Linked DNA regions of Homo sapiens: regions 1, 2 and 4 are each linked to region 3. The links are contacts of gene promoters, found by promoter capture Hi-C in human tissues and cell types (Jung and others, 2019). All regions are on one chromosome and are shown on one strand. Each heading gives the region's core, a stretch centred on a gene start or on the middle of the fragment in contact. The rest is flanking DNA. Distances are from core to core; before and after follow the strand shown. Region 1 overlaps MVB12B (multivesicular body subunit 12B). Region 2 overlaps MVB12B (multivesicular body subunit 12B). Region 3 holds the start of PBX3 (PBX homeobox 3). Region 4 overlaps MVB12B (multivesicular body subunit 12B).

The links. The method cuts DNA at HindIII sites, captures the fragments that hold promoters and counts their contacts. A contact is called where the count stands out against the background at its distance.
Region 1: a fragment that was not itself captured here is called in contact with the fragment with the promoter of PBX3 in region 3 in 3 of the 25 tissues and cell types used here (dorsolateral prefrontal cortex, hippocampus and thymus).
Region 2: a contact is called between a fragment that was not itself captured here and the fragment with the promoter of PBX3 in region 3, in 2 of the 25 tissues and cell types used here (dorsolateral prefrontal cortex and hippocampus).
Region 4: a contact is called between a fragment that was not itself captured here and the fragment with the promoter of PBX3 in region 3, in 2 of the 25 tissues and cell types used here (dorsolateral prefrontal cortex and hippocampus).

The regions. Positions count from the first base shown.
Region 1 is chr9:126,395,076-126,399,333 of GRCh38, forward strand. MVB12B (multivesicular body subunit 12B) reads left to right here. Exons shown (of 10, transcript NM_033446.3): 6 at 500-622. Among named protein-coding and RNA genes, the nearest start is that of NRON, 13 kb to the right of the region's middle. RefSeq lists a silencer at 3,494-3,553. The HindIII fragment of the contact is 7,281 bases long and covers 1-4,258 here.
Region 2 is chr9:126,339,146-126,343,307 of GRCh38, forward strand. MVB12B (multivesicular body subunit 12B) reads left to right here. Exons shown (of 10, transcript NM_033446.3): 2 at 1,363-1,485. Among named protein-coding and RNA genes, the nearest start is that of MVB12B, 14 kb to the left of the region's middle. The HindIII fragment of the contact is 5,578 bases long and covers 1-4,162 here.
Region 3 is chr9:125,744,056-125,748,627 of GRCh38, forward strand. It overlaps PBX3 (PBX homeobox 3), which reads left to right and starts at 3,318. Exons shown (of 9, transcript NM_006195.6): 1 at 3,318-3,598; 2 at 4,495-4,568. The coding sequence starts at 3,399. It overlaps PBX3-DT (PBX3 divergent transcript), which reads right to left and starts at 1,874. Exons shown (of 2, transcript NR_122032.1): 1 at 1,361-1,874. RefSeq lists silencers at 2,413-2,842, 3,093-3,142, 3,153-3,682, 3,953-4,292. The HindIII fragment of the contact is 5,465 bases long and covers 49-4,572 here.
Region 4 is chr9:126,434,329-126,438,362 of GRCh38, forward strand. The region is part of intron 7 of MVB12B (multivesicular body subunit 12B); the gene reads left to right. Among named protein-coding and RNA genes, the nearest start is that of NRON, 26 kb to the left of the region's middle. RefSeq lists an enhancer at 1,793-4,034. The HindIII fragment of the contact is 5,330 bases long and covers 1-4,034 here.

The sequences.
Region 1 (4,258 bases), core at 1,331-3,830, 650 kb after region 3:
CTCCCAAACTGACCCTGAGAATGAGTCCAACGGCAGGTGACACCCAGCTGCAAGAGGCTGTATCCTGAGATTGGAGTGTGTTATAGAGTAGGGGGCTAATTCTTCTCATGGTTAAAAACCAGCATCTCCCTATCTGTCTCTCCTAATTGCACAAAGGACTTGATGTGGATTATCACGTCACACTCCACAAGGAAATGGCAAAACAAAAAGAAGTTTGGAGAAGCAAGGAAAGTACCAGTTGGAGTAGGAAGGCAAGCTTGGGAAGGGTGATGCAGGCGGCCTTGTCCCGAAGGCCTGCCTAGATGGAACGGGTCACCCTCGTGTGAACTATGACACCCAGAGCACAAAGGAGACGGTGGAACCCATTTCACGTGGAGGGCAAGAATTGATTCCCTGGTGTTTGAGGCCATGACTCTTTTAAATGAATTGGTTTGCTTTGTCACTCAGGTAAATGCTTTGTGCTAACCAGAGCCATGAAGATTTCTCTTTTTTCCTAAAGGGAACTGAACAGCATGGGGATCTGGTATCGAATGGGCAGAGTACCAAGAAATCATGACTCATCTCAACCCACAACGCCTTCCCAGTCATCAGCTGCCTCCACCCCAGCCCCCAACCTTCCCAGGTGAGGCCTTGTCGGGGTGTCTTGCGTTGTCCTGTGGTCTTAGGTCCCTGCACAACATTTTAGAACACCACCACTTAGTGTCTGCTGAAATACTGCAAAGTACAGCTGAATAATTGTAGAAGCAATATATCTTTAGAGGAGATTTTTAAAAATCCACTTGGAAATCTTTGCATTACATGAATGCAAAGGCCATTCTATAGTCTATTTTGTGCGTGTTCTGCAGGCTTCTAAAATTGCAGATTATGCAACTTAAAATTGGCTCCCTATTCAAAAGAGCTGCTAGCTACACACAGACACGTGCTGTATAGCCATGGGGTTGGGATCACTGGCCTTAAGGTCAAATTCCTTCTCTGTCTTGGCCAGCAACTCATTTGAAACCCAGGAGGGTAGGTGAGTTCTTATATTCTTCATTTTCATATAATTTCTTTTTCCAATGAGCTATAAAGTAAGAAATGGGTAGTTTGGGTATGAGAGAATAGTGAGGAGTTTTTCAGGAAATGCTAGTTTTAACAATTGTCTCCGCAAAGAAACTTGGGTGAGCCAACTGTTTGCTCTGCAACTGATTTCAGTCATAACAGAGGTAGTAACAGTCTCTACACTTTCTGCAAAAAGAATCCTGTCAAATAAAAATCCTGTGCATCACTAGGAGTAAACTAAGGGCAAGGAACAAACAGCACTGATGGATTAAGCTTGAGAAAGGGATTGCAAAAGTAAATAAAACAAGAACGGTGAGGCAGCAACACTTAGGGATTGACATAACGTAAATGAGAATGGATCTCCAAGCTTCCACGTGGGTGAATAGAGATGAACAAAATCTGTCAGGAACCGGACAGAAGAGTCACCAGTAGGTCTTCCTGGGCCATCCACAATACAGCCTGCCCTCCGGGACATACCACCAGCTCTCTGTACTCTGTTCCTCTGTGCCAAGCCTCCGTCTCACTTGGAAGAATGTGCTGTAATGAGGCTCCAAAGCCCTGAGGACTCTGTCCTCTGGGACATCCCCCTATAAAGACAATCTGGTCCTTCTCATGACAGTTTCACAAACCAAGAGTGGTATTTAAACTTAACTACCCCTGGAATTGCCTGAAACTTTAGAAGTAGTTTTCAGTTTCATTTGGCATAAAAAGATAGGAATCTCTAATAAGCCTCCCAGAGTTGCAGGGTGAACAGTTGAGTCTCTGTTGGGTTCAAGAGTGTGAGGTTCGCACTGCCCATCAGCACTTGTTCCTCACTTCTGAGCCAGAGCGCTGTCAGCTCCGCCCTGGAGGGCACTGCTGAGGGTCACTGTCTCCTGTGCTCAAGGCTATATCAGGTGTGTCACCTGTGCTGGGGAGTCAGCTAAGTCCATCACCTGTGTGTCGGGGTCCTCCATCACCTGTGCTGAGGCCCATCACTTGTACTTGGAGCAGCTCAAGTGTGGGCTCCTTGCAGAGGCTGGAAAGCCCCCACAGGAGCAGTTGCCCTGAAGTTGTTACAGCTGCTCCCTGCTGACATCATGTGGTCTAGAAGGGCCCAGAAATGGGCACCACCTCAGGCAGGTTTTGACTTTCTGTGGTTAAAGAAAGAACACCAGTTCTCTCAGATAAAGCAGAGAGAGCTCTCAGAAGCCTGCTGGTGACTGTGAGAGCAAAGTCACTTGCACCTGAAGCAAGACAGCCGAGAACACCGAGCCACCGGCAGCCTGGTGGGTTTGGAGGGTAGTGCGTCAGAACCAGATGTTTATAAGGCTTATGTATTTTATCACCTCTGCTGTACAGTTTATGGTTTACAATGGCTGCAAGGAAATCGGATCAGTTTTGTTTTACTTGCCAAATAAAACAAATGTCAAAATAGTCAATATAAAATGTATTCTAATTTGGCTGAGTTAAGTCAGCCAATATGCAACAGGATAATTGAATGTTCATTAGTGCTTCCAAGTAAAAGCCATTTGTCTGTCCCAAGTTCTCCTGTGCGGTAATTTACAGGTAGGATGCACACCTATGTAAGCCTCATCCATCAGGGTTTTTTGGTTTTTGTGGGGTTTTTTTGTGTGTTGTTTTCCTATCCAGTATCTTTGATTTATTTTAAAATGAAATGTTGATTATTCATTCAAATTTTCCATTGAAGACCTAGGAAAGGATGAGTATGCTGTTTTATTCCTTGAGGCTTCAGGTCTCTACACTCTCCAGAGGAGGAATCTGATCACCTCCCCTCTGGTGGGGAGCAGTGGCTGGGGCTTGTGCTCCGAGTGCTGGGGGTCTACCAGGAGCCTATAGGGTAAGGCAGGCCCCTCAGTGGGGCCTGCAGGGCTGCACACCAGCTCCGGGATTTCCTGTCTTCCCTTTCCCAGCCAGAGCCCCAGACATTAACGTGCGCTGGCAGCCTCCTCCTCCCCTGGCTTCTGCGCCTTTGCTCCCGGTGCTCCCTGCACATGAGGTGTGTTTGACAGGTCTCAGCGCAGAGGACTTCTCTCCCGGGAAGCCCTCCCAGAGGCTCCTGGGCTGGGCCTGTGCTGGGTCTTCTTCTGTGAGCGCTTCCGGGGCATCTCGAGCCCGTGTGGTGGTGAGGGCATGTGGTGAGCCTCCGAGGAGCTCCCCAGCGCCTACCTGAATCCAGGCACGAATTCAGTTTCACCATAAATGCGTCCCTGGCAACCCCTCCAGACTACTCCCTGGTCCCTGAGCACTGCGCGGGTCTTTTCCTATGGCGAGAGTAATCCAGGCTTGTAGAAAATTGGCAGAATGTAGAAAGTATGAAAAAACAGGAATTCCATTTCCCACGAGCAGATGCTTATAACCTTTTGTTATATTTCCCTCAAGTCTTTTTCTTGTGTACTTTTTACATAGGTGATATCATATCGTGTAATAGCAAGTCTGCATCTTGCTACTCTTTTCTCAGGTAGCCTTAACCATAAACCTGAGAACCACGTCCAGTGCGGTCTTTGTGTGGCGTGGATCGGGCCTCTGGGAGCGCGGTGACGCAGCGCCCTCTACTGCCCAGCCGTGGCGGTGGCGGGGAATGCGGTTCTGAGCCGGAGCTAGTGGCAGGCTCTTTCGCCGCAGAGCCCTGGCCCAGGCCAGCCAGGAGGACCTAGGAAGCGGTGGGTCACAGATCTTGCTGCCTTCTTGAGTCTGTATTCCTCTCCAAAGCCAAAACCATGTGCTCCGCCTCCATTTCTTGTGTCATCGCTCAGATTTCAAAGAATTTCCTGCCATTTTTTGGAATGCCGTTCATTCCCAGCTTTACTTCAGACAAAGGTGGATCTTTGCACCGTCTGTAGGCCATCACCTGAGGACCTCGTGGTTCTAGCAGCACTGCCTTCTCTGTCCAAAAGCAGGAACTGCCTCTAGAAGCAGGAGCTTCCCGCAGAAGCTCCGTTATTGCAGAAAATGCTGTGGTGTCACCGGCTTTGGAGTTGTCCTTTTGGAGCAGGCAGGTCCCCAGGGAGAGGGATGCTCCTGGGCTGTATCCAGTGAGTTGGTGGCTAAGGTGGTAGAAGGTAGCTTGGCAGAGCTCCTCTCCCTCATACAGTGATGCTTCATCTCACATACAGACATCGCCACACACATCTCTTGACTGTCTTCTAGTGAAGAAGGGCAGCCACTTCTTCTGGGACCCAGAGCCTCTCCATATCTCTGGCCGCAGGCGCTCCATCCC
Region 2 (4,162 bases), core at 738-3,237, 590 kb after region 3:
CCGGAGCTTTTTGTGGGTTCCACTGACTTCATGGGAGACTTGCATACAGCATTTTGATTGTTCCTATTTAGAAGGCTGCAGTCATTTTTAATGGCCTCTGCCTTTTCTGATTCTAGGCTAGAAGCAAGAATATTCCTCCTGCCTGCTTAGTGAGGTAGGGTGTTTGGTTTGTATTAGAAGCAGTAACCAGCCTTGAGAGATCTGGCAGACCTGCAGCCAGTGGAGTTTAATTGTTGCAGAAGGAGGTGGAATTTGACTTGCTCTTTTTCACTGCTTGTCCTTTTAAAAGTACTTAGGTTCATTTACATATGGTGTTGCCTCTTTTATTTGCTTTCTGGTGCACTGCCACTCCAGCTGCCCAGACCCAGTGCTCTCTATATTCTACCTTTCTCCTCTGGTCACATCAAGAGGCAGTCAGCAGCAGAATAATAATTCCATTTTCCCTCCCTTTCTCTCAAAGTGCCCAGCAAGAATTATGATCATTGTTAGTATTTGGCTTTGAGTAAGTGCCCACATGACCCGAGGGTAAAACACAACAAAGGGATCTGCCAGTCCCCTATGGAGTGACGCCTATCACATTTCTGACCAGTTACCTGGACTTGTGTGTCCCAAACCCCACCAGTTTTATGTGCTTTTTTTGAGCGCCTACTGTATACCAGGGACCTCTCCAGGCCTTTCATTTACATCCACTGTCTTTGACTCTCTTGGTCCTCACAGCAGCTCTGCAAGGGTCAGTATCATGACCTCCTTTTATAGCTGAGAAAATGAAGGGTCCAGGAGGTTAAATTGCTTACTCAAAGTCACCAGCTAGTCAGTCATGGAGCCTGGACTCCAACACCATTCCTTCACCTGAGCCCAGAACACTTATTTCTGTGTTTGCAACATTCCTTGCTTCTTTGCAAAGCTCTGCGTGCTGAAGGCCTAACCTTGGCTGTGGGTTTGGAAGTCTAGGCCTCCGTAGGAGAGATTGCAAGGGAGAGAGAGGAAAGGTGTTGTTAAGCTTAGCCGTGTCTGACATGTCTTCAGAGCAGCTACTGGTATCTGTTCAGAAATCAAGCAGCTGGATGGCGGAGTTAAGAATGACGTGCTCTTGGGTTTGAGTCAAGCTCACCTCCTGAGAGTAGAGACAAGCTCTCATCTTAGCTCAGTGTTCAAAGCTAACCTGAGAAGAGTGGGAAACAGAGGTGATTTGAATTCTTGACCTGGGGAAAGGGTCACATAGGGTCAGGACTCATTCAACCAGTACAGGTATGTGAAACTCAGGGTATTTGCCCCAAGATTCTGGTTCTGTTTGAGACTTTATATTATTCACATAAATGCTATGTTTGAATTTTGTGTTTTCTTTTTCCTTTGCTGAACCAGGACCAGTCCACCATGCCTGAAGTCAAAGACCTCTCAGAAGCCTTGCCAGAAACGTCAATGGATCCCATCACGGGAGTCGGGGTGGTGGCTTCTCGGAACCGAGCCCCGACAGGCTATGACGTAGTAAGTCAAGATACTAGTTTGTACATTTTGCTCACTGATTCTACAAGTATTTATCTCCTGTGTCCAAGACCTTCTGGCCCTTGCGTGTAAGATGTGCTTCTTCCCTCTAGGAACTTAATCCAGGGAGGGCGTGGAGAGCATCCTGGTTTGGGAGTCAGAAGACCTGAGCCCATCTGGGCCGTTTCCTGGCCTTGACCACCTCTGTGATGGTCATTTTCACCTTCTGTAAAATTAAGGAGTTAGATTCATTGATTTTCAACTTCTGGTTGTGACATTTCGTGAAAAGGATCCAGAGTCTATGAACGACTCCTGGTGGTTTTCATATATTGTCATGCATGTGTAAATATTGTAAAGGCATTGTCCTACGTCTGTGTAGCTCTTTACAGTTTAAAATGTTTCCTACCCATGAACTCATTTAGCTCTCTTGGGCTTTTGGAAGGCTGGGAGGGCAAGTAGCTGTATCACCTCTTTGCTGATTAGGAGAACCCACGCTCTGAGAAGTCAAGTAACAGAGTCCCAGTCCTTGGATATGGTGAATCATCAGGACCAGACCCCCTCCAAGTCCAGTGCTGTGGCTGACCACACCACCACAGTTTAGTGGAGAACTTTCCTTGCTTTTCAGCAGACATCTGTGCTGGTGTTCAGTAGTCCTGATGATTGGAACTGGTTATGTTGTTGTTTCAGTAGGTAAATTCTGATTCGGGTGGAGCTTGCAAAGTACAGAGGAACGTTAGGAGGGTTTAATTAACAGTGGATATTATCATGTGTTCTGAGATTCTAAGGTGGTCTTATGTTTACTTTCCTCACTTTGTTTGTGACGTTTTGTTCTTATTCACTGAAAATGTGCACCAAGAATGCATAAGAGTGAAAGAACACGAATCTCATTAGCCAACACTGAAAACCTCCCACAGCAATTAGAATAGTCTCTGATGTCCTGCAGTGAGGAGAATGTGATGCCTGGTCCAGCAGAAGAAGCCCTAAGGCAGGGTTTCCCAACTTCAGCACTGTTGACATTTAGGGCAAGACAATCCAATAATTCTTTGCTATATGTTTTCCTGTGCATCGTATGATGTTTAGCAGCATTCCTGGCCTCTCCTTAGTGAATACCAGTAGCACCTGTCCCTCCTCCCCCAGTGGTGACAACCCAAAATGTCTCCAGACGTAGCCAGATGTCTCCAGGAGCAGGGGGTGGCTGGGCAGAATCACCCCCCATTGAGAACTGCAATGGTCAAGGCAGATCTGTACTGAGTCAGCCAGTGCTGGGTCCTGGGTAAGGAAGGAGGAGCCTGTTCAAATGCTACACATCCCTTCTCCAACTGTTTGAAAGCTCATAAACATTTTAAAAGTGAAAAAGTGAAGGAAACTTTTCTGACAAACATTTCAGTCTTAGCTGCTGCTTGACTTCAAAGTGTGGTTTGAATGTATAACTTTCCATAAAATAGAATCATTAGGTATGGCTTTGTGCCACGAAACTCTGGGGGAAGCTAATAAAAATGTTCCTGATTTGAGAAGCCAAAGTGTCTTTTGATGAATTAGGGATGAAGCAGCAAGTCATGAATCAAGGCAGGGACTGGGAGTTCCCGCTGTGGGAGAGGACGGGCTCAGGGGTCGCTCTCCTAGGAGGGCTCTCAGGGAGCTTGAGCCCAAGGCAGGGGTCTCCCCATCTTCCCATGCCCTCTTTTGTTGATCTGTATCTTTAGCATTCCGTTTGTACCTTTAGGGTCATCCTGCTTGCCTGGGTAGTGGGTGGCAGATGGCCTTTGATAGTTTGGTTTTCTGGAAGTCTTGGTAAGTCTGACAGGAGCAGAATCTATCCCTATCATTTTCTCCTAACATCTAGCTCAGGGCAGAAGAGCGCAGTGTCAAATGAGTAAAATTAATAAGCACATTTCATGATTGTGCTGTGCCATGCATTTTAGTGGGAGGTTAGCAGGGCAAGGGGCTTGAGCTCATCCGCCCGGTAATTACCCAGCTCTGCACGGCCGAGGTGGAGACTGCCTGGGCTCCCTCTGAAAGCCCTAACAGGGAGAGAGGTGGGAGTCCCCTCTTGGTACTGGCCTCTGGACTGTGTGCAGATAAGCGTCTCGTTCCCCAGAGGTCTGGCCCCAAGTTCAAGGAAGGCGGGGAGGGCATGGTGAGAAGAGAGACTTCTCATTCCTTTTATCTGGAGTTTCATATTAAGTCAATATCCAAACCAAAGTGCAAGGCGCTCTGTGGTGGCTAGGCTGCAGAGATGCTTAGACAGAACTCCAGCAGATGAGGAAGCCCTGCTGCGGATTGGGCCGAGACCTCTCTCTGTCTGTTGTAGCTGCTGTAGGATTAATTTCTCCCTGCGCACAGAGCCCGTTAAGTACTGCCACCACGCAGCCCTGCGAGTTAGGCACCAGATGGACTGGTGGCCCTGAGTAGCACAACTGCTTTAAAATGAGCTTAGGTCCCATTGCTGCTTGAGGTAAAAGGTGCCAAATGTTCATTTATAAAAATTTAATTCAATAACTTCCCTTCTCTCTGGGTCAGGGGAGCCTTCTTAGGCTAGGGGGCTGGGGATTATTTGCTAAACTTCTCAATTTATTGTTCCGACGTCTGCGGTCCTCTCTGAAAGAGCCTCGCTTTTCTGTTCTGCACCCACACTATCTGGGAGTGACTGGTGCTTCTCTCCCCTTGCAGTCAGAGTTGG
Region 3 (4,572 bases), core at 2,068-4,567:
CTACTGCAACTCATACTGATAACAACAAAAAGAGAAGCCTCCCAAGCAGAAGGTCAGTCTAATTCAATCACTTAAGGCAGAATTATGGTATCAAGTTTCCACATCACTGAATGACCATGGGTGTAGAGGAGTGTACCATAAAATAACTGTGGGTGTTAGACATTTAACAAGTTGTTTTATTCCTAATTGCTGGCATTTGCCTAACTGTTTTCTTAATTCTAATTTATGTTTTTATGTTCCAGTGTGTTTACACAGCCCATAGTTCCCAATTGCCTTTATTTGCTTAAGTGTTTCTTTATTTACTTTTTTTTTTTTTTTTTGAAAAGAAGTCTCACTCTGTCGCCCAGGCTGGAGGGGAGTGGCACAATCTCAGTTCACCGCAACCTCCACCTCCTGGGTACAAGTGATTCTCCTGCCTCAGCCTCCTGAGTAGCTGGGATTACAGGCGCCTGCCACCAAGCCCAGCTAATTTTTTGTATTTTTAGTAGAGATGGGGTTTCACCATGTTGGCCAGGCTGGTCTCAACTCCTGACCTTGTGATCCACCTGCCTCGGCCTCCCAAAGTTCTGAGATTACAGGCATGAGCCACCGGCCTATTTACATTTTTATATATGTTGCTTTGCTTACATAACTCATTGTTCGGAGTGGGCTAGAAATAACCATAAATCCCCATTGCTAATTAGCCTCATCCTCATGACTGATTAGTCAAGATTATGAGTCTAGAAGGAGGGCAGAGAGGAGTCCTAATAGTGAGTCACAGGATTATTGAATTTTACAGCTGGAAGGAATCTTAGAATTTAAGGCATCTTTCAGTTAGAATTCTGTGGTTTTGCATCCTCAGCGTTGGAGAATTATGAAAGGTTGACCGCTTGCTCCTGCGCCTTTTGGCAAAAATGCTTAAGAATTTGGTGACAGCTTTAAAAAACAAATTAAGAATAAAGAAAAAACCCAATCAATGACGATTATAAGTAACCCATAATGGGGGCTTCAAAGAAGAATTGGAAACTTGACATATCAATGGGGTATAGAAGAGCAGAGAATATTAATGAACATGAAGGGGGTTCTTCTTTGGAGGTAAGTAAGCAGAGTGGATTTTTTGGAACTCCCTCCTCAGCAGCTGTGCAGTTTGTAAGGATTTTAGCTTGCCTAACTGTAAGCTTAGCTATTAGCTTTGCAGTGGGGAGTATTTAAAAGTACACACAACATATGAAGGAAAGAACCTGGAACCGAGTAGCCTGCTTCATTCCAAGAATCCATCTGGCATTTAAAGAACTGCTTGTCCTACATTAAACCCTGCAGAGTAAGAGCCATTTTTCATATCCTCATACCCCTATTTTTGGTTTCAGGTAAGACAGCTTACTGAGTTTGGAGAAGGAACAAAGAGACTTTTCCGAACCACCGAACCAAAGGACTCATCTAGGGTGAGCTCAATGAATCTAAAATCGGGAACACACATTGCAGCCCCTGTTTGGGAAATCAGCTTAAGAGCAATCTCAAGTCTCCACAAGAGGCGGAGGTCCATATTCCAAAATAATGTGAGCCTTCAGTTATTTGTAGGTAGAATTCAATGGAAGAAGGGGTGTTATAGATACGAAAAATCGTGGCTGGCGTTACCAACATTAAATGACTCGTGGTGATGGGGTAAGTTGACAAGTGAAATCCAGTCTCTTCCTAAACAAACGTATCTTTGTAATGAAGAGCTCGTTTTTGCAGCTTCAGTACATCTGGAGGCATCGAATAGCAAACGCTGCCAAAGGAGTAGTCCCTGGATTATCAGGAGTTGCAGAGTGTGTAAAGTGTTGTAAACCTTGAAATTAGTCCTGGACTGAAGGCACTTTCCCTCCTCCCAGACTCGCTTCTCTCTGACACATTTCCCCTTTCAATGGAAAGTCTATGGCAGTCAGGTCCACTCAGCTCAGACTTCAAGTATGTGAGACCACAGGTTCCCACCTTAACTGGTCACCCATTGAGGGACAGCACAAGACCCCGGTGCTGGCGCCAACGCTGAGCTGCGCCCTCTCGGTTACCATGGCGACCGCAGGCGGGGCGAGGCCCCCACTCGCCGCTTCCCCGCCTCTGCCCAGAACCTTTCGAACGCTCCAATTGGGACGACCCTTTCTTGCCTCTGTCCCGCCCCATTCGGCTCTAAGCGCTTTGCGATTGGCCCGGGACGAGCGGCCTGGTACCCAGAGGGCACCACCTCCTGACAGGAAGAGCGGGAAAGTGCACCAGGAGCTGTCCGAGGCGTGAAGCTCACGGGCGCGGCGGGGGAGCACACGGTTGGCTTTGCAGCGAGTTGCCCACTGTCCCATACACAACCCCCCGCTCCCATGACTGCCAAAAGCATGGAGCAGGAGTCGGGGTGCGGGCACACCGTTTGTGGGCCGGCCCGGTCTATCCCGGGGGGCTAGGACGCGACGAGGTTGGAGCGAGGATCCGGCGGCACACTCCGGAGCGCGGAGTATCAGAGGCCAGAGGGAACGGGCCGGGCCCCGGGGGCGGTGCCGGCGGCGGCGGCGGGAGGCGCAGAGCCCAATGAGCGCGCGCACCGCCCCGGGGGCGGGGTCTGAGGAGCGCTCCCCCGCCCTTGCCAGCCCCCGTCCCTCCCCCCGGCGCGGGGCCGCAGTGAGTGAGTGGCACTGGCAGCCTGTCAATCCCTCGGCCCAGCGGCCTTCCAGCCCGGTCCGCGGCGGCTGCTGGCTGGGTGCGCGGCTCCGGCGGCGGCGGCGGCGACTTCTCCCGCCCTATCCATCGGCTGTCCGCCCGGCGCGCGGCCCGCCGGGGCCCTCCTCCGGGCTCAGCGCCCCCGCCGCCTCTGCCCGCCCGCTCCCAAACTTTCCTCCTCCGCCCCCCCTCGCTCCCCGCGGCCCGCCCGCAGGCCTCCTCCTCCGCCGCCGCCCGCCGCCGCCGCCGCTGCCTCCCCCGGGGCCGCCGGGGCTCGGATCCCGCCTGGCCGAGGCGGCGGCGGCGGCCGAGGAGGGCAGTGCGCAGGCTGGCGCGGGGGGCGGCGGGCGTCCCGGCAACTCGGCGGGCGCTGAGGAGCAAGTTGCGCGGGGCCGCCCGGCGGGGCGCGCGGCGGCGAGGAGGCGGCGCGGCGGCCGCGTGAGGGCAGCGGGCGCCGCCGCCTCCGCCTCCGCCACCGCCGCGGAGCCCGGCGCTTCCGCCCGCCGCTTCTCCTCAGCCTCGGCGGCGGCGGAAGCCGGAGCCGGGCGCCCGTCCTCATCGCCTCAGCCGCGGGCCCTGCCGGCCGGGCCGCCCCCTCCCCGCGCGGGCGGGGAGCGCGCGGCCGCCTCCCCCTCCCCCTCCCCCTCTTTCTTCTCCTCCCTCGTCGCCGCCGCCGCCGCCGCCGCCTCAGCCTTCGCCTCAGCCGCCGCCCGCTCCCGCCCGCGCGCGGCGGGATGGACGATCAATCCAGGATGCTGCAGACTCTGGCCGGGGTGAACCTGGCTGGCCACTCGGTGCAGGGGGGCATGGCCCTGCCGCCTCCCCCGCACGGCCACGAAGGGGCGGACGGCGACGGCAGGAAGCAGGACATCGGCGACATCCTCCACCAGATCATGACCATCACCGACCAGAGCTTGGACGAGGCGCAAGCAAAGTTGGTGTCGTCTCATTAAGCATCTTTTGTGTGTGTGCGGGAGCCGGGCCCGCGGCCGAGTCGAGGCCCGGGGTGGCGCCCGGGGCTAGGGCCGCAGCCCCCGGCGGGGAACTTTCTCCGAAAGCCGGCCGCCCGCCCCGGCCTCGGGGGGACTTGCCCGCGCCCCCCGAAGCGGGCGGGAGTCGGCAAAGTTGCTCTGGGGGGCTCGGGACGGACTCGGTGCGGCGCGGATTCCGTGGCGTCCTTTCCCCCGTCCTGCCCCTCGCAGCCCGGCCCCCTCCCAGGGATTTAAACCTCCCGCCCCGACCCCGTGCGGGCCGCGCCGCCGGGAAGTGTAACTTTCTCCTCCGGCGGGGAGTCCCGGCGCCGGCTCCCGCGGCCGCGGGACGACCTCGCGATGCGGGCGGCCACCCGGGCCCGGCGCGGGGCGATGGGCGGTTCCCTGGCGGGTCCGGGTGCGGACGGCCAAGTTCTCGGAGAGGGAGGGCCGCCTTGCAAACTTTGCCGAGCTGTCACCCTCCCGCTGGCCGCAGTCGGCCGGCCTCCTCTGCACAGGAGCGGACGCGGGAGCCCCTCCGCACCCGTCCCCTCCCCCGGGTCGCCTTCGCCTGCCCCCGGGGCGAGGCTCCCCGCGCGGGTTCGCGTCGCGTCTGCAGTGGCCGAGGCTGCTGCCTGCCGGGCAGATGGGTCCGCCTTGTTCCGGCTGCAGCTTTCGCCGCCGGGGCTTGCTGGCTGTCGGGAACTAGTCAACTGGAGTTTTTGTTGACTTCCCACGGTTCAAAAGGGCCTTCCAGAATGGGGGGCTGGAATTAAATCTTGGGTCTAACTTAAAGGAAGGCGCCATATTATTCCATAGGTGATGCTAATACCTTTGTGTTTCGTTATTTGTTTTTTAGGAAACATGCCCTGAACTGTCACAGAATGAAACCAGCGCTCTTCAGCGTCCTGTGTGAGATCAAAGAGAAAACAGGTAA
Region 4 (4,034 bases), core at 499-2,998, 690 kb after region 3:
CCCCAGATTTGTCTTACAATTGTCTGTAAGACAATGAATGATACAGAACTCTCCTCCAAGGTTGAGATCCTTTGTTAGAGAGCAGTTTCTTACGCCTGACTTGTTTTATAGCATGAACGATCGCATGATCCACTGGCGAGGCAACATCCATAATTTTGAATGAGGGAGTAAAGCTTGCCTCGGTGGCCCTAAGCATCGCTTCTGGTGACACACTTAGAAGTCCTTAATCGCTTGCTACCTAGAGGCAATAAACACACCTATCTTTATGTTCCATTGCCTGTGTGTTTACCTGAAATATGCCCTGTGTAGCAAAACGCCAGTTTCACTCCTGTGAGAAGGTCCTTGGCTCATGAATTGCACGGCCTTCACTCACCCCTATTTTGCCAAAGGTGGTAGTGCCTTTTGTAGGCCCAAGACGTAGCTTCTTTGGCCAGGAAACCCCTTGGCTATTTATGCTTCTTGTAAAACTCTGGCCATTTGCTTGGTTTCCGAGTTCTAAGAAAGGAGATCCATCTCTGGTCATCATGTGGAGTTCAGGGTTCATTCTGGAGGGCAAGATGATGTCTCCTTCACTGGTGTGTGCCTGATGCCCAATGCCCAGCCCAGGGCCTAGCATACAGGGGATGTTCCATGACACTCAATGTTTCGTTGATTCTGAGAGGACCTGGGTCTTAGAACTGGTTCACCCTTTTGTATCCACCCTTTCCAGCTACATTACTTTAGACAGTTTATATAACATTGCAGTCTGTTTTCTTTTTTTTTTTGTAATTTTGAATTATATTTTCTCTTCTGAATTTGAGGATTAAAGATAATGTACATGAAATACCCAGTGCCTAGTACCAAGAGGGCACTCCAGAAGTGGAGCTGCTATAACTGCCGTAAATATTGTTATTCCAGGGAATTGCTGCTTATTATACCAGAAGGCACTGGTCTCATTCACCCTGCAGTGTGACCTCACCTAAAAGTCCAGCCGGGGATGGAGAGGGTGCAGCTGACAGAGGGAGCTCATGAATGGTGGGACCTGGCATGGCTCAGGGAAACTTTTGGCATAATAGAAGGCAAACCCTCCCTTCTAGTTCAGAAATGTGTAATTGCTGGAGATGTTAGCTTGCTACTGGGTAAAATGATTTTAAAGAGAGAACTTCTCAACATTTAAATCAGCCTCAATTTTCCATGTTCCTTTTCATCAAGTCAGCTCTGGTTTGAGAAGGGATCATATCGGCACTCAACCCTTTAAATGATTTTCCTTCTTTGCCTTTCTTTTTCTTTCTCTTTGGCCTTGGCTCCTTCCTTTCCAACCACTCCCCTCCCAGAACCTCTTATTTTAGCCAAAAAAAAAAAAAAAAAGTTTCTTTCCTTGCTCCAGAATCACACCACCCACCGAGCACATCATCTGGAAGTCCCCTGTCCCTGAGCTCACTTGCTGCCAGGCCGGCGGCACCCAGAGGCTCGAAGGCCACAGGGGCACACCGTCTTTTCTCAGGGTTGGAGAGAGTAGATTAGACAACATCCTCAGATGTCCCGTCTCATGGCAGGTCACTGCCACTGTGAAGGGTACGGCTGTAGATGCGGGGGGACTGCTTGTTTCTTCAGGCTACATTTTTTAAAAAGAGATCATACCTTTTCTTTGGATTTAATGAGGACAGACATTTTAATCAGAGGTTAGTCATTTATTTTTGCAAACTATTGTTTTGATTCATCATTTTTGCAGATAATTAAATGGTTCAGTTGGCACAGTATGTCTACTTTATTAAAACAGGTAATTTTGGGGAAAAAAAGAGATGCTGTTTTTTGGATCACTGCACAAGAATTGCTTTTATCTTCATCTTTGAGCATAGTTTCTGGTTATTTTGCCAGGAGGCTCTCTCGTGTTCGGGCATTTGGGGTCCTTTCTGGTCTGGAGGGGCTTGCCCTTTGATGATTGGGATGTTAGCAGATACGCCCTTTGAAACGGGAGCTGAAGAGTAAATTCTGTGCAGCCGCCTTTTAGGAACACTCTTAGGTTTTAATTGGATTGGGAAAAAGAACCTACAAGTTATGAACTTTGCAGAGCAGCAGTTCTTATGCTAAAAACAGATTAATTGTAGCCCTCGCAGTGGGTGGAGTTTCAAAGTCAATTACTGCTTGTCCTATTATAATTTACACACACAGGATTTGAAAAAGTCTGCCACTTAGTATAAAAGTGAAAAGGTTACGTGTACTAGTTTGAGTATACCTATGACTTTTCATTTGTAAATGCTTTAGCTACATGTATGTGTATGTATGCAACTTGCAGCTGTGGAGCTGTAACTACATCTGTGAGCAAGATTCCTTATGAAGAGTAACCTTTAAGGTCTGGTTCCTTAAATCCGTAGTGGCTCAGCATATAGTCCTTTGTCTGGCAGTCCAGTCCACTTGTGGGCACAGTGGCTGGCCCCTGCAGAGCCTAAGGGGCACTCCACTCATGAGTCATGAACTAGTAAGGGAATGGCCCTTCCTGGGTCAATTTTTTAAAAGCGAATTGCTCACAACATTTGCTTTCTTTAATTTTTTCCATGTTTGTGTCCTGAATCAGTTAATTTACTCATTAAAAGAATTTATTTTAGGTGGACCAATTAAAACTTTGGAAGCTAATTTTTTGCTGAGCAGAGCAGACCTCTGAAAACACAATTTATAACATGGCTTCTGCCCTTCCACAGAGAGCTGTCTTATGGTACTGTAACCTCTGGTGCTTGCAGAAGTACAAAATTGCTGTTCTTTGTCCTCCAGCTCTGGAGCTGAGCTGCCGTGTGGGTGGGTTTCTCGAGCCTTCCCATTGTTTTAGGGTGAACAGGCAAGTCTGAAAAGTCCAGCCCAGCCCAGGAGTGGCATGCTGTATTTGTTTGCTTGCGTAAACTCCATAGTTTAATTTTTTTTAATAGGAAGCTGCTATGTAGTTCGGATATTTAAACAGTTATTAACCGAATGACAATTAACAGATTGCATAGACAGATTTTCTTTTGAAAACCTCTGAAATTGAGTACAGTTTGCAAAACTATCACGGCATAGTAATGACAATGAATTTTGATTTCCCGGAACTGATATTAGACTCCTTATTAAACTATGTGCATCTGCTTTTAATTTACTCCAAATAATTGGAAAATGCAATGAAGCTTTCCAATTAAAGCACGGCTTTATGCTGTTTAATAATACCCCCATAATATTATAGCTTATGAAGTGACAGGTGAGTTGGTGTATGAATAAAACATAAAGGCAGCAATAAGGGACAGAAAACCGGAGACAGTTGTGGGGATTTTAAATGCTGGATGTAATTTGCATATATTAATCTCTTCTTTTCAGCCTTATCAGGCGTTCTTCAGTATTTGAAGTTAAAATAGCGTTGACAGGCGGGAGTACGCTTAGTTTTTTCAAGGATTTATTACTTGTATAATTTCTGATCTTTAATAAGCAGATATGACTGATCCTCATAGTTCTATAGAAATCAGTTAATTGTTCCAGATGGCGTGTACTGATTATGCAAAATTACTTTTCACACCATTTTTTTTGTGATGGAGTTTGGAGTAAAATTAAATTTTTTATAGCCTTCTTATCATGCTGTTTTACAGTGGTTTTTCCACAGAAGTTGAATTTAATCTACTATATTACATTGACCAACACAGTTATTCTAATGTAGCATTTTGTGATTTGACAGAGAATAATAGAACACATTGCTCATTGTTCATTACTGTGTCCCTAATAAAAAGGAACTCCTGTGTATAGAACATAGCTGTTATTTATGAAGAATGCCTAATTCATACAGTTAAAAATGCAAAATTGTATTATGAAGTAGTTCCTTTTGGGGAGAGAATATCTGGAAAAAGCAAATGGAAATAGGCTTGTTGCTGCAGATTCTACATGCTAAGGGAGGAGCCTTCTTTTAATGACCAGCGTGTTTAAATTGTGCTACTTTCTCCTTTGAAGAAGGAAAAACCCAGATAATCTTATTCTATTAACAGAGGTGTCACTGGTTGACTTGTCTTGATTTACATAATCCCAAAAGTCTTTCATAATTGAAT